Linked DNA regions of Homo sapiens: region 2 is linked to region 1. The links are contacts of gene promoters, found by promoter capture Hi-C in blood cells and fetal thymus (Javierre and others, 2016). All regions are on one chromosome and are shown on one strand. Each heading gives the region's core, a stretch centred on a gene start or on the middle of the fragment in contact. The rest is flanking DNA. Distances are from core to core; before and after follow the strand shown. Region 1 holds the start of LINC02733 (long intergenic non-protein coding RNA 2733). Region 2 holds the start of TMEM258 (transmembrane protein 258).

Region 1 (5,738 bases), core at 1,259-3,758:
CAACACTTTGCGAGGCCAAGGCGGGCGGATCACGAGGTCAGGAGTTCGAGATCAGCCTGGCCAATATGGTGAAACCCCGTCTCTACTAAAAATACAAAAATTAGCCAGGCATGGTAGTGGGAGCCTGTAATCCCAGCTACCTGGGAGGCTGAGGCAGGAGAATTGCTTGAACCCGGGAGGCGGAGGTTGCAGTGAGCCGAGATCACGTCACTGCACTCCAGCCTAGGTGACAGAGTGAGACTCCATCTCAAAAAATAAATAAATAAATAAATAAATAAATAAATAAATAAATAAAATAAATATGATTGGGTACGATCTAACACTAACAGGCTGAATGGGGAAACCCAACAAGGCCCATCTGATCAGATTCTTCTTGGTCTCTCTGTGCAGCATTCCTTCCAGGGAATAGGGCAGGACCTGTCTGAAATGAGGGTATTGTGACCTACAATCAAAGTAGGCCAGAGAATTTCCTCATGACCAGCTCCTAGACAGAAAGATAGGAAAAGAAGCAGGTAAAAGGTGGGGAGAAAAAAGGAGCAGGTAAAAGGTGGGCAGGAGAAGGTCAGAGAGAGAGAGAGAGATTCTGTTTCCTGAAGCCTGCTTGTGAGAACTAAAGTGCCCTAACATTATAACAGAAACTGTAATAACAAGAGCTATGGGAGTTATAAGCCAAGAATCATGGGTGAAAACATTTTATATATATATATATGAAAGACATATATATGTTTATAACACATATGTATATGAAATGCATACATATATGAGACACACATATATGTTTTTTCATCCATGGTTCTTGGTTTTATATAAATATCACAACATGTATTTTCAAAAGTGTGAAGCAATTGAAATTCTCCTACTTGAGGACCATAAATAGTTTAATCACTTTATTTTATTTATTTATTTATTTATTTATTTTAGACAGAGTCTCGCTTTGTTGCCCAGGCTGGAGTGCAACAGTGCAATCTCTACTCACTGCAACCTCTGCCTCCCAAGTTCAAGCAATTCTCGTGCCTCAGCCTCCCAAGTAACTGGGATTACAGGCGCCTGCCACCACGCCTGGCTAATTTTTGTATTTTTAGTAGAGACGGGGTTTCACCATGTTGGCCAGGCTGGTCTCAAACTCCAGACCCCAGGTGATCTGCTTATCTTGGCCTCCCAAAGTGCAGGCATTACAGGCGTGAGCCACTGCGCCCGGCCTAGTTTAATCACTTTAGAGAGCACCAGCAACATCCAGTATAGCTGACAATGCGAATAATACACACCCCAGCAACTCTACTCTTGGTCTGACCTTAAAGCAAAGATTCTCAGCCCTGGCTCCATGTTAAAAAACGCCTGGGAGAGTTTTGTTTTTATTTTTTAAATCTGATGTCTCAGGTCCACACTCAGAAATTTTGATTTCATCTGTTCTGTGATGAGGCCCAGAAATGGTCTTTTAAAAGCTTCCTCGGAGCTTTTAAATGTGTACCCTGCCCAAGAGAAAGTCACCCATACAGATAAAGAAGCATTCACCTTGCACCAACTACATAAATAAAATCAAGGGGATTTAAGCATCTAAATGTAAAAAGCAAATTTTTAAAATAATTTTCAAAATTAAATGACTATCTTATGACTTTGGAATACAAAAAGATATCATAAAGACCAGGCACAGTGGCTCACACCTGTAATCCCAGCACTTTGGGAGGCCAAGGCTGGAGGACTGCTTGAGCTCAGCTATTTGAGACCAGCCTGGGCAACACAAAGACCCTGTCTCTATTTTTCTATTATTTTAATGAATTTAAAAAAAAAAGTCCAGGCGCAGTGGCTCACCCCTGTAATCCCAGCACTTCGACGGGCAGATCACCTTAGTTAAGTGAGAGATGGCGAAACCCCATCTCTAGTAAAAATACAAAAAATTAGCCAGGCATGGTGGCAGGCACCTGTAATCCCAGCTACTCGGGAGGCTGAGGCAGGAGAATCGCTTGAACCTGGGAGGTGGAGGTTGCAGTGAGCAGAGATTGTGCCATTGCATTCCAGCCTGGGCAACAGTACAACCTGTGTCTCAAAAAAAAAAAAAAATATATATATATATATATAGATACACACACACACACACACATATATATACGTGCATAGTTATACGAGGAATTTTTCAGCGGTAAACGTGAATCAACTAGAAATATATGTACCAACATGAATAATTCTTAAACACAATGTTGATCAATAAAAGCAAGATATGGCCAGGTGTGGTGGCTCGTGCCTATCATCTCAGAACTTTGGGAGGCCAAGGTGGGCAGATTACTTGAGGTTGGGAGTTCAAGACCAGCCAGGGCCAACATGGTGAAACCCCATTTCTACTAAAAATACAAAAATTCGCCAGATGTGGTGGCACGCACCTGTAGTCCCAGCTACTCAGGAGGCTGAGGAAGGAGAATCGCTTGAACCTGGGAGGCAGAGGTTGCGGTAAGCCAAGATCACGCCACTGCACGCCAGCCTGGGTAACAGAGCGAGACTCCATCTCAAAAAACAAACAAACAAACAAAAAAGACCTTCAGAATGGTACAGTGTGACATCAATTTTTTAAAATTGAAACACAAATCAATACTCTGTGTGTTTATGGATACATATGTAGGTTTTACAAGTATGAAAACAAACATAGGTCTGAAAAACATAATCCTGAATTTTATTTTTACCTCCAACGAAAAAGGGAAAACATCTAAAAATTAAACCCAGTGTCTTTTGGAGGCATGATACTCTAGAGCTAAGTTGTAGATTTTTTTCGTTATTTTAAATGGTATTTTAAGATGCGCAAAAAGAAGTACAGGTGATGATACAACAGACTTAGCTGATATTTATGACTCAGCGGTACACCTAAAATATTACAGGTTTATTGGAAGCCCTAATCCGATTTTCCTTTCTCCTTGACCGGATGGATTATCCTGCCTCTGTGAAGTGTAACTTTAAAGAGAAGGCGAATGAGCTTCTAGAGAGCTACCAAGACAGTCACTACTTCATCATCAGTAAAAGCTGTTTACTTCCGATGTGTAATAAACCCACGTGACCATTTGGGGGCGCCAGAGTCCAGCACAGGCCGGCCGAGCCCGCGTTCTTCCCGGGGAATGCAACAGCTGATTCACCTGCTCCACGCTGATTAATAATCAAACTACCATTGTGTGGGGCCTATCTTCCTACTGGACCTCAAAACCCACCTACTCCACAAGTTTATCTTCACAATTATGAGCTACCTGCTTCACGTCACACTACAGCACCTAAAAGCAAATAATAAAGTTTATTCTTGAGTTAACCTGCCTCTGTGTTCAGCCAATCCCTCCTGCACGTGAGTGATGCACCTGGATGCTGCATAAGGAGAGATGGAAATACCTAAGGTGTGGTCCTTACTTCCAAGGGGCTTATAGCAGAACGAAGACTCGAAAGCAAGCACACCCACAACCACAACACAGCCGCTGGCACACACAGCAGGAAAGACACCGGGTTTAATGGAGCAGAGAAAGGGGGCGTCATCTCCAGGCACAGCTCCATGAAGAAGATGACATTGACCTGGGAGCTCTGAGCCTTCATATAATGAGTAAGCTTTCAGCTGGAAGAAATCCCAAGTGGAGAAACAGGAAGCTATAAAAGAGCAATGGTTTTGGATTCACAAAACCTGCCTGAGTGAACCTGGGTAAGTTGCTTCCCCTTCTTGATCTCAGGAAGGGTTTTGCAGAGCTGGCAGCCACAGGCACAGGTGAGCAGATGGCTTGAGCTCAGAAGTGCAAGACTAGCCTGGGCTACATGGCAAAACCTGGTCTCTACAATCTGTAGAAGTTTTCCTTTCTAGCTACAAATTAATAAATGTTAATTTGAAAATAAAAATTAGAAAATCTAAGAAAATATAAAGAAGAAAATTAAATTACACCTAGTTCTGAAGAGGCGCAGTGGCTCACGCCTGCAATCCCAGCACTTAGGGAGGCCAAAGCGGGAGGACCGATTGAGACCAGGAGTTCCAGACCAGCCTGGGTAACATAGTGAGACTCCCTCCTCTACAAAAAATTAAAAAATTAGTCAGGTGTGGTGGTATGTGCCTACAGTCCTAGCTACTGGGGAGGCTGAGGTGGGAGAATCGCTTGAGTCCAGGAGTTTGAGGTTATAATGAGCTATGATTATGCCACTGCACTCCAGCCTGGGCAACAGAGCACGATTGTGTCTCAAAAAAATATATATATATGCTTAATCTTTTCACTTAGAAATATTTTCTTCTTATTTTTTCTATCAGCTCCTCCAATTTAATGTACAAAATGAGACTATACTGAATATACCTTTTATATCCTGTTATTTAACTTAACATTATATTGTGACTACTTTCTCGAATCAATGCATATAATTTTGTCTGGTTTTGCTTTCTTTTTCATCAAAGATGTACATGCACATAATCTAAGAATCAGTAGTTCAAGTCCCTCTTCTATCCTGCTCCCCAGATCAAAACTTGAAATATTTTAGTCAATTCCTTTGGGATTTACTTCCATGTCTTAAAATAACACCGTATTCATATTCTACTTACCAGCACGTGACTATCAGACATCACCTACTGACTTCTGACTCTGGAAATGGGGGTTTAGCCCTCTCCCCACCCCCATCACTCAGCCCCACCTTTTATTTTTCCTAGATTCAATGCTGGTCTTATTTTTTATTTGTTTGCTTTGCTTTCTCTGTACCTATCTCTGTTTTTTTTCCCAAATATTTCCTGAAGGTGTGAAACTCCACTCTGTATATTTAAGCACATTAGGCATTTTACTATGGCCACAAGTGGTGGCTCATGCCTGTAATCTTAGCACTTTGAGAGGTCCAGGTCAATGGCCTGAGCTCAGGAGTTTGAAACTAGCCTAGGCTACATGGTGAAATCTCGTCTCTATAAGAAACATAAAAAAATTAGCCGCAGGGTGCGGTGGCTCACGCCTGTAATCCTAAGACTTTGGGAGTCCATGGTGGGCGGATCATGAGGTTAGGAGATCGAGACCATCCTGGCTAACACGGTGAAACCCCGCTCTACTAAAAATACAAAAATTAGCCAGGCATGGTGGCACGGGCCTGTAGTCCCAGCTATTCAGGAGGCTGAGGCAGGAGAATCACTTTAACCCGGGAGGCGGAGGTTGCAGTGAGCTGAGATCACACCATTGCACTCCAGCCTGGGTGACAGAGCAAGACTCCATCTCAAATAAATAAATAAATAAATAAATAAATAAATAAATAAGCCACAGGCTGTGGTGGTGTGCAGCTGCAGTCCCAATTACTCAGGAGACTGAGGCAAAAGGATTGCTTGAGCCTGGGGATAGAGGCTGCAGTGAGCCATGTTGGCACCACTGCAAACTAGCCTGTGTGACAAAGCAAGAAAGTGAGACCCTGTCTCAAAAAGTAAAAAAGAAAAGTGCACTTTACCAGTATCATCTTCTTGGGCTATTTTTCCCAGCACCTTCTGACTGGCTCCCAAATGGCCAGGTTGCTGTCATCCTGGGATCTCCCTGCACCAGCACCCTGAGGATTTCCTTTTCTTCTCTCCTGTGTTGAGCCCTAGATTCCTGGGTCTCATGGCTTTCTCTTTCCTGGTTTACTCCTTCATTTTTATAGAACGCATCCTCAAGACTTCTGGAGGTGGATGCTCGGTAGTGAAAATTTTTGAAAACTTTCCATGTCTTTTAGTGGCTTTTGTTCTGCTTCTGCTTGATTGATGATCTGGTTAGGAATTGAATTCCAGGTAGGAAATC
Region 2 (5,738 bases), core at 2,523-5,022, 290 kb after region 1:
GGGTGCTGCCTTGGCGGCTCTTACTCAGCCTCTTGACCCCACTGCGGATTCGCTCCTCAGAGAACTGCTTTTCACCACACATGAACTTGATCAGCTCTTCTTCATTTGGCTCGCTCCACTTCAGCTCCACAGACTCTGGGTCCAGCACCTCAGGTTCCAAGAAGAGCTGGTGAGCCTCCTTGTGGAGCCAATTTTCTGGCACAGGGTACTTGTTGGGGTCAAGTCGCCGCACGATCTCCTCGATGCTCTTGTGCTTCTGGATGAGGTCCACAGCCCGCTTGGGCCCAATACCCCGGATACTCTCACAGTAGTCACTGCCTAGCAGGATGCACAGATCCACAAACTGTTCCTGGTTCAGGCCCAGCTCCTGCAGAATCCGGCTCAGGTGGAATTCCTGGATTGGCAGCTTTTTGGCTTCACTGGCAGTCAGGTGTCGCATTAGCACAGGGCTGCCGAAGGTGAGGCAGTCCATGTCCTCGGTAGCCGCAGCATAGACTTTGCCAGCCTTCACCAGGGCAGCACAGCTGGCCTCTGCCTCACTGGGTGCATCAAGATAAGGGATGCCCATGAGGCTCAGCAGATGTTTGCACTCATCATTGTGCTGCTTAGTGACCTTCACCAGCCGCTTAGTGAATTTTTCCACCTCCTGCTCGGCCCCAGCAGCCTGAGCCTGCTGCAGCTGCTTCTCTGCCTCAGCCCGCCGCTCACTGCGTTTGGCCAGCTCGCCTGACTTGAGCTGTGGCGGCTTGCCATCAAAGACATACACGGGCTTGATGCCGTTCTCCATCATGCGAATGGTGCGGTAGAACATGCCCATCAGGTGGCTGGTGGTCTCACCCTCCTCATTCTGCAGCACATCCCCACCCTGGCGAACAGCAATCAGGAACTGATAAATGCTCATAGAGGCATCAATGGCCACCTTACGGCCAAAGTAGCTCTTGATGTCATTCTCCCGGATGGCACTGGGGGCCACATCAGCAATTAGTTTGGCCAGGCCTTGAATTCCCATGGCAACACAGAGGAGGGATGACTAAAAAAGAAAGGCAAGTCAGAGACGGAGGAAAGGAGAAAGGTTATAACTGGTGTTATCTCACCAACTTCATGCCTTCAACTAAATTCCACACAACAAAAAGGACACCATGTCAGCACTGCTAAAGATAAAAAGATGAACAAGGTCCCCATTCTCAAAAAACTCAGTCTAGCAGGAGAATTTACTCAATAGTAAGGCTCAACGAGTACCAGAAATTGAACCACGTGCTTAGAGAAATAAGATACTGTTGATATTCTAAGGTAGCAGCATTATTTATTACACAAAAAAAACCTGCAACATAGGTCTCCATCAAGGACCACAGAAGGCCAGGATGCTTGGCCTGGCTTGAGGAGTCCAGGGACCATAATGGCAGACCTGAAAGACAGGCAAATACACCAGCTAAACAAACAGATCTGATTTGTTTTGAGTCTCTGGAGAACCCTGACTAATAAGGCAGCCTTGAAAAAGGATTGCAAACATATCTGAATGGAGGTGATGTGGCTTTCTCACAAGCTTCTCTAAACTCTCTTCATCATCGCCTCAGCACATAAGAGTTTCTACTTTTATTATAATGTTGCTAGAGTTTCAAGTCTTTCCCTTTGCGTTTTCTCGCCACCACTCAGTCTGAAATGTTAACTCCATGGCTCCTCCCCAGGTCCTGATTTAGGGGTCTGGCATGCTGTAGTCACTGGGCTCAAAAGAGTATTGCACTTCAGAGTTCAGTGTTTCCCAGATAGCAGTGTTTCCCAAATCACCCTCACGATTTTTGCTACTTCCAACTAAAACCCGTACTTTCATTCACTTAGAATTTTTTTTAAAAAACTAAACTGGAAAACTCATAAGCAATAATATTTGTGTTCTATTAGTTATATTTTAATATGTATTAAATGTATAACTATTAAAAAGGATTTTTAGGGGGTGCAATTTAAAATCATCTTGCCATCCTGGCCAACACGGTGAAACCCTGTCTCTACTAAAAATACAAAAAAAAAAAAAATTAGCTGGGTGTGGTGGTGTGCACCTGTAATCCCAGCTACTCGGGAGGCTGAGGCAGGAGAATCGCTTGAACCCAGGAGGCAGAGAATGCAGTGAGCCGAGATTGTGCCGCTGCACTCCAGCCTAGCAAGAGAGTGAGACTCCGTCTCAAAAAAATAAAAAACTCATCTTGTGCCCACTGTTGGTATGTGTCCAATACTCCAAGAAATATTCTACTGGGGCCAGGCACAGAGGCTCTGGGCAGTAATCCCAGCACTTTGGGAGGCCGTGGTGGGAGGATCACATGAGCCCAGGAGTTCCAGGCTACAGTGAGCTATGATTGTGCCACCACACTCCAGCCTGGGCAACAGAGCAAGACCCTGTCAAGAAAAGAAAAGAAGACAAAAGAAAAGAGAAAGAAGAAACGAAAGACTCCATCAGGCCTTTTCATTGTTCCCACTCTTTCTTCACAGGGTTCTTTCTAGAGCATCAATGACTGTTCAATTCTTCCTTCTAATTCAGTCCAAACACTTCAGCATGGCATCACGATCTTTCATGTTCTGGTTCCCAACCTAACCCTACATTCTGGGATCTCAACAGAAAGCTGGAATAAGGCCCGCCTTTTCCCACTTTTCCTTAGCTGTGCCCTCCTCTCGCCATCCTCTCACGCGTCCTTCCAGGTCCATCCCTGGATTATTAATCAATTAATAATTAATTGACAATGAATTATTCATTTGATTAATATGAATAATTCCCCTGTGAACTGCAGCGGCAAAAGCTCTGGCCTTGAATCTAGGCGCGGCATTTACCATCCGTGTGACATTACCAAGCCACTGAGGTTTATTTTCTCGTCTACAGAAGAAGAACGATTACCATGCCTGTCTCTCAGGGCTGCTGCCAGGGTTAACTGAGACAACAGACAGAAACCTCTAATGTCCCCTCTCCAGGCCTGTTCAACCCTTCGGCTCTTGCCTCAAGCCGGCCGCGCTGCTGGAGTGTGGACTGAGGACCAGACCATGTAGCCCTTGATCCCCTCACGGCGTCCCACAGACAGGTAGGCAGGAAAGGGGCCTAAACAACTCAAGTGTCAGAAATGTTTCTCGTCCAAGGTCTTAGGAAAAATACAACACGACCCCATAAGGTGGAACTTATTACCGCTTTTCTACAATGGAGGAAAGAGAGGCTCGGAGCTTACGCGACTGGCCCAAGGCTCACAGGGGGAAAAGTGGCGGGACCTCTTGACTGCGAATCCCGCGCACTCCAGACCCCGGCTCCCCACGGCCCCCAGCGCCAAGCGGACCCCGTCGCTCCCGGAGGCGCTTCCCATGGGGTCTCACCTGGCCTTTGGGACACGCGGCCTCGGCGGCTAAAGCTTGGTTCGGGGTTGCCCCGGGCAGGCGGTCCTAAGCTCGCTCTCCCTTCTCAGCTTAGCGGCGGGTGGCCTGACGTTCAGCCGCCTTCCAAAGCCCGCGCTCCCGTCACGTGACCTGCTCGCCACGCACAGCCTCTTGGGGCGCGTAGTGCAGGCTGCGTCCCCTCAGACGGCTGCTCTCATGGCAACCAGTCCCTCCAGGGAGAACAGAGTCTCTCAGCGACCCTGGCGTACCCTTCTCCACCGCTTGTCCCCACTCCACCCACACCAGGTCCCCGCAGGCCCCTGCTCCCTCTACACCCGAAATCGCAGGACTACAAGTCCCTCAATGCCACTTGCGCCGGAGGCACTTCCTTTTCCGGTTGTGCTAGGCGCCTGCTCCTGCCGACGTGTTCTTCCGGTGGCGGAGCGGCGGATTAGCCTTCGCGGGGCAAAATGGTGAGAGCGTTGAGGGGAGTTCCAGACGGAGATGCGAGGACCCCTCGGGGTCTGACCCACACCGCGCTTATCTCCTCAGACGCCGGAGATCCAGAGGGCTAGACGCTCCTGGAACCTCCGGCTTGGGCTGAAGGGTGGGGAAGGGGGAAGCCCCTTGCCATGAACTCCTTAGGTTTCTCAGCTCGCGATTTCTAAGGGCGAGAGGCGTGGGGCGAATTTTGAATACCTTCCAGTTTGTATATCTCTGTTATCGGTGGTGTGTTATCTTTATTTGGAAAGTTCTTCTGCCGAACCCGTGCCCATCCTACAATGCCCTGGGCAAATGTTTATTGGTGAAGCACTTCCAACTCTCAGGCACTTGGCCAGACTTTCCTAGGAGCGCCCACAGCCTCTGTACAGATCTCTGGCCACGTTCCATGGACTTCTTTGTTTTCGGCCACGCCTCCTAGTGACCACCGTCTGACGCGCATCTAGCTCTGGGATGATGTCTATTCATCTTTGTATTCTCAGTGCCAAACAGAGGGCCCGTAATTGGAAGCTCAATAAATGGCAGTGATTGTCTTTATCATTTTGGGGGAAGGGGGCCGTGATTGTTTACTGAATTGAATTCCAGTGTCTCAGAACAATGGGGGCAGTTTACTTCTCTAGAGTTGTTATGTTCTGGATTTTAGAAGCATTGGCTGACCGGTGACAATGAAGTTAACATTTGTACAGATCTTTACGTTTACAGCCCTCTTTCATAAAAGACATTATCTCATCATCTTCCCTACAGCCTTAGGAAGGAAGCAAATACCTGTTGAGCAAAATACTCCCTGCTAGGCACTAGATGCTTTGATTCATCATCTTTCTTATTTTTCAGTTCTGTGAAATAGATATTACAGTCGCTTTACTCAGACTCAGATTACTCAGAACCAGAACTTGAATGTCTTGACCATAGCTCACAAGATTCCATAATAGCATAGGTAGTGAGGAAAATACTGAATTAGAAATTGAGGGCCAGGCGCGGTGGTTCACTCCTGTAATCCCAGCACTTTGGGAGGCTGAGGCGAGCGGATCAGGAGGTCAGAAGTTCAAGACCAGCCTGGCCAGCAAGGTGAAACCCTGTCTCTCCTAAAAATACAAAAAATTAGCCGGGCATGGTGGTTCACGCCTGTAATCCCAGCTGCTCGGGAGGCTGAGGCAGGATAATCACTTGAACCCAGAAGGCGGAGCTTGCAGTGAGCCGAGTTGGCACCACTGCACTCCAGGCACTCCAGCCTGGGCGATAGAGCAAGACTGTCTGGAAAAAAAAAAAAATTGAGCCTGGGCGCGGCAACTCACACCTGTAATCTCAGTACTTTGGGAGGCCGAGGCAGGCAGATCACCTGAGGTCAGGAATTCAAGACCATCCTGGCCAGCATGGCAAAACCCCATCTCTACTAAAAATACAAAAATTAGATGTGGTGGTGCGCACCTGTAATCCTATAGTCCCAGCTACTCGAGAGGCTGAGGTATGAGAATCTCTAGAACCCGGGAGGCAGAGGTTGCAGTGAGCCGAGATCGTGCCACTGCCCTCCAGCCCGGGCGACAGAGTGAGACGCCGTCCAAAAAATGAGACTCCGTCAAAAAAAAAAGATATTGAGATCTGGGTACCACCAGTCAGTGACTTATAGCGGGGGTTCTCAGCTTGGTGTCTATAGACACTGGTCCACAAAGCTCCGGAAATTGTAGGCAAACTTTTTCTTGTATGTGGTTTTTCTCAGGCAGAGAGTTCGTACCTTTAGTCACGTTTTCATAGTGGTCAGATTATTGGCCTCAGAAAATGCTAATAAGGGCCATTGATCTGCAGCTACATTTCCGGGCTAAAATCAGCCTCTGTTTCACGGCAGCACCAGGCTCCTTGATAACCGCATGTTCTCTCCAGGCTGAAATCGTGGGATTCTT

The links. The method cuts DNA at HindIII sites, captures the fragments that hold promoters and counts their contacts. A CHiCAGO score of 5 or more calls a contact.
Region 2: a contact is called between the fragment with the promoter of TMEM258 here and a fragment that was not itself captured in region 1, in 17 of 17 cell types (neutrophils, naive CD4 T cells, total B cells and 14 more). The highest score is 14.7, in neutrophils.

The regions. Positions count from the first base shown.
Region 1 is chr11:62,079,537-62,085,274 of GRCh38, reverse strand. LINC02733 (long intergenic non-protein coding RNA 2733) reads left to right here and starts at 2,953. Exons shown (of 3, transcript NR_183616.1): 1 at 2,953-3,661. The HindIII fragment of the contact is 2,128 bases long and covers 1,445-3,572 here.
Region 2 is chr11:61,790,633-61,796,370 of GRCh38, reverse strand. TMEM258 (transmembrane protein 258) reads left to right here and starts at 3,772. Exons shown (of 4, transcript NM_014206.4): 1 at 3,772-3,815. The coding sequence starts at 3,813. It overlaps FEN1 (flap structure-specific endonuclease 1), which reads right to left and starts at 3,460. Exons shown (of 2, transcript NM_004111.6): 1 at 3,343-3,460; 2 at 1-1,030. The coding sequence starts at 1,009. MIR611 (microRNA 611) reads left to right here and starts at 3,810; the gene lies at 3,810-3,876. RefSeq lists enhancers at 525-1,025, 2,571-3,546, 3,460-3,754, 3,547-4,524. The HindIII fragment of the contact is 6,270 bases long and covers 3,380-5,738 here.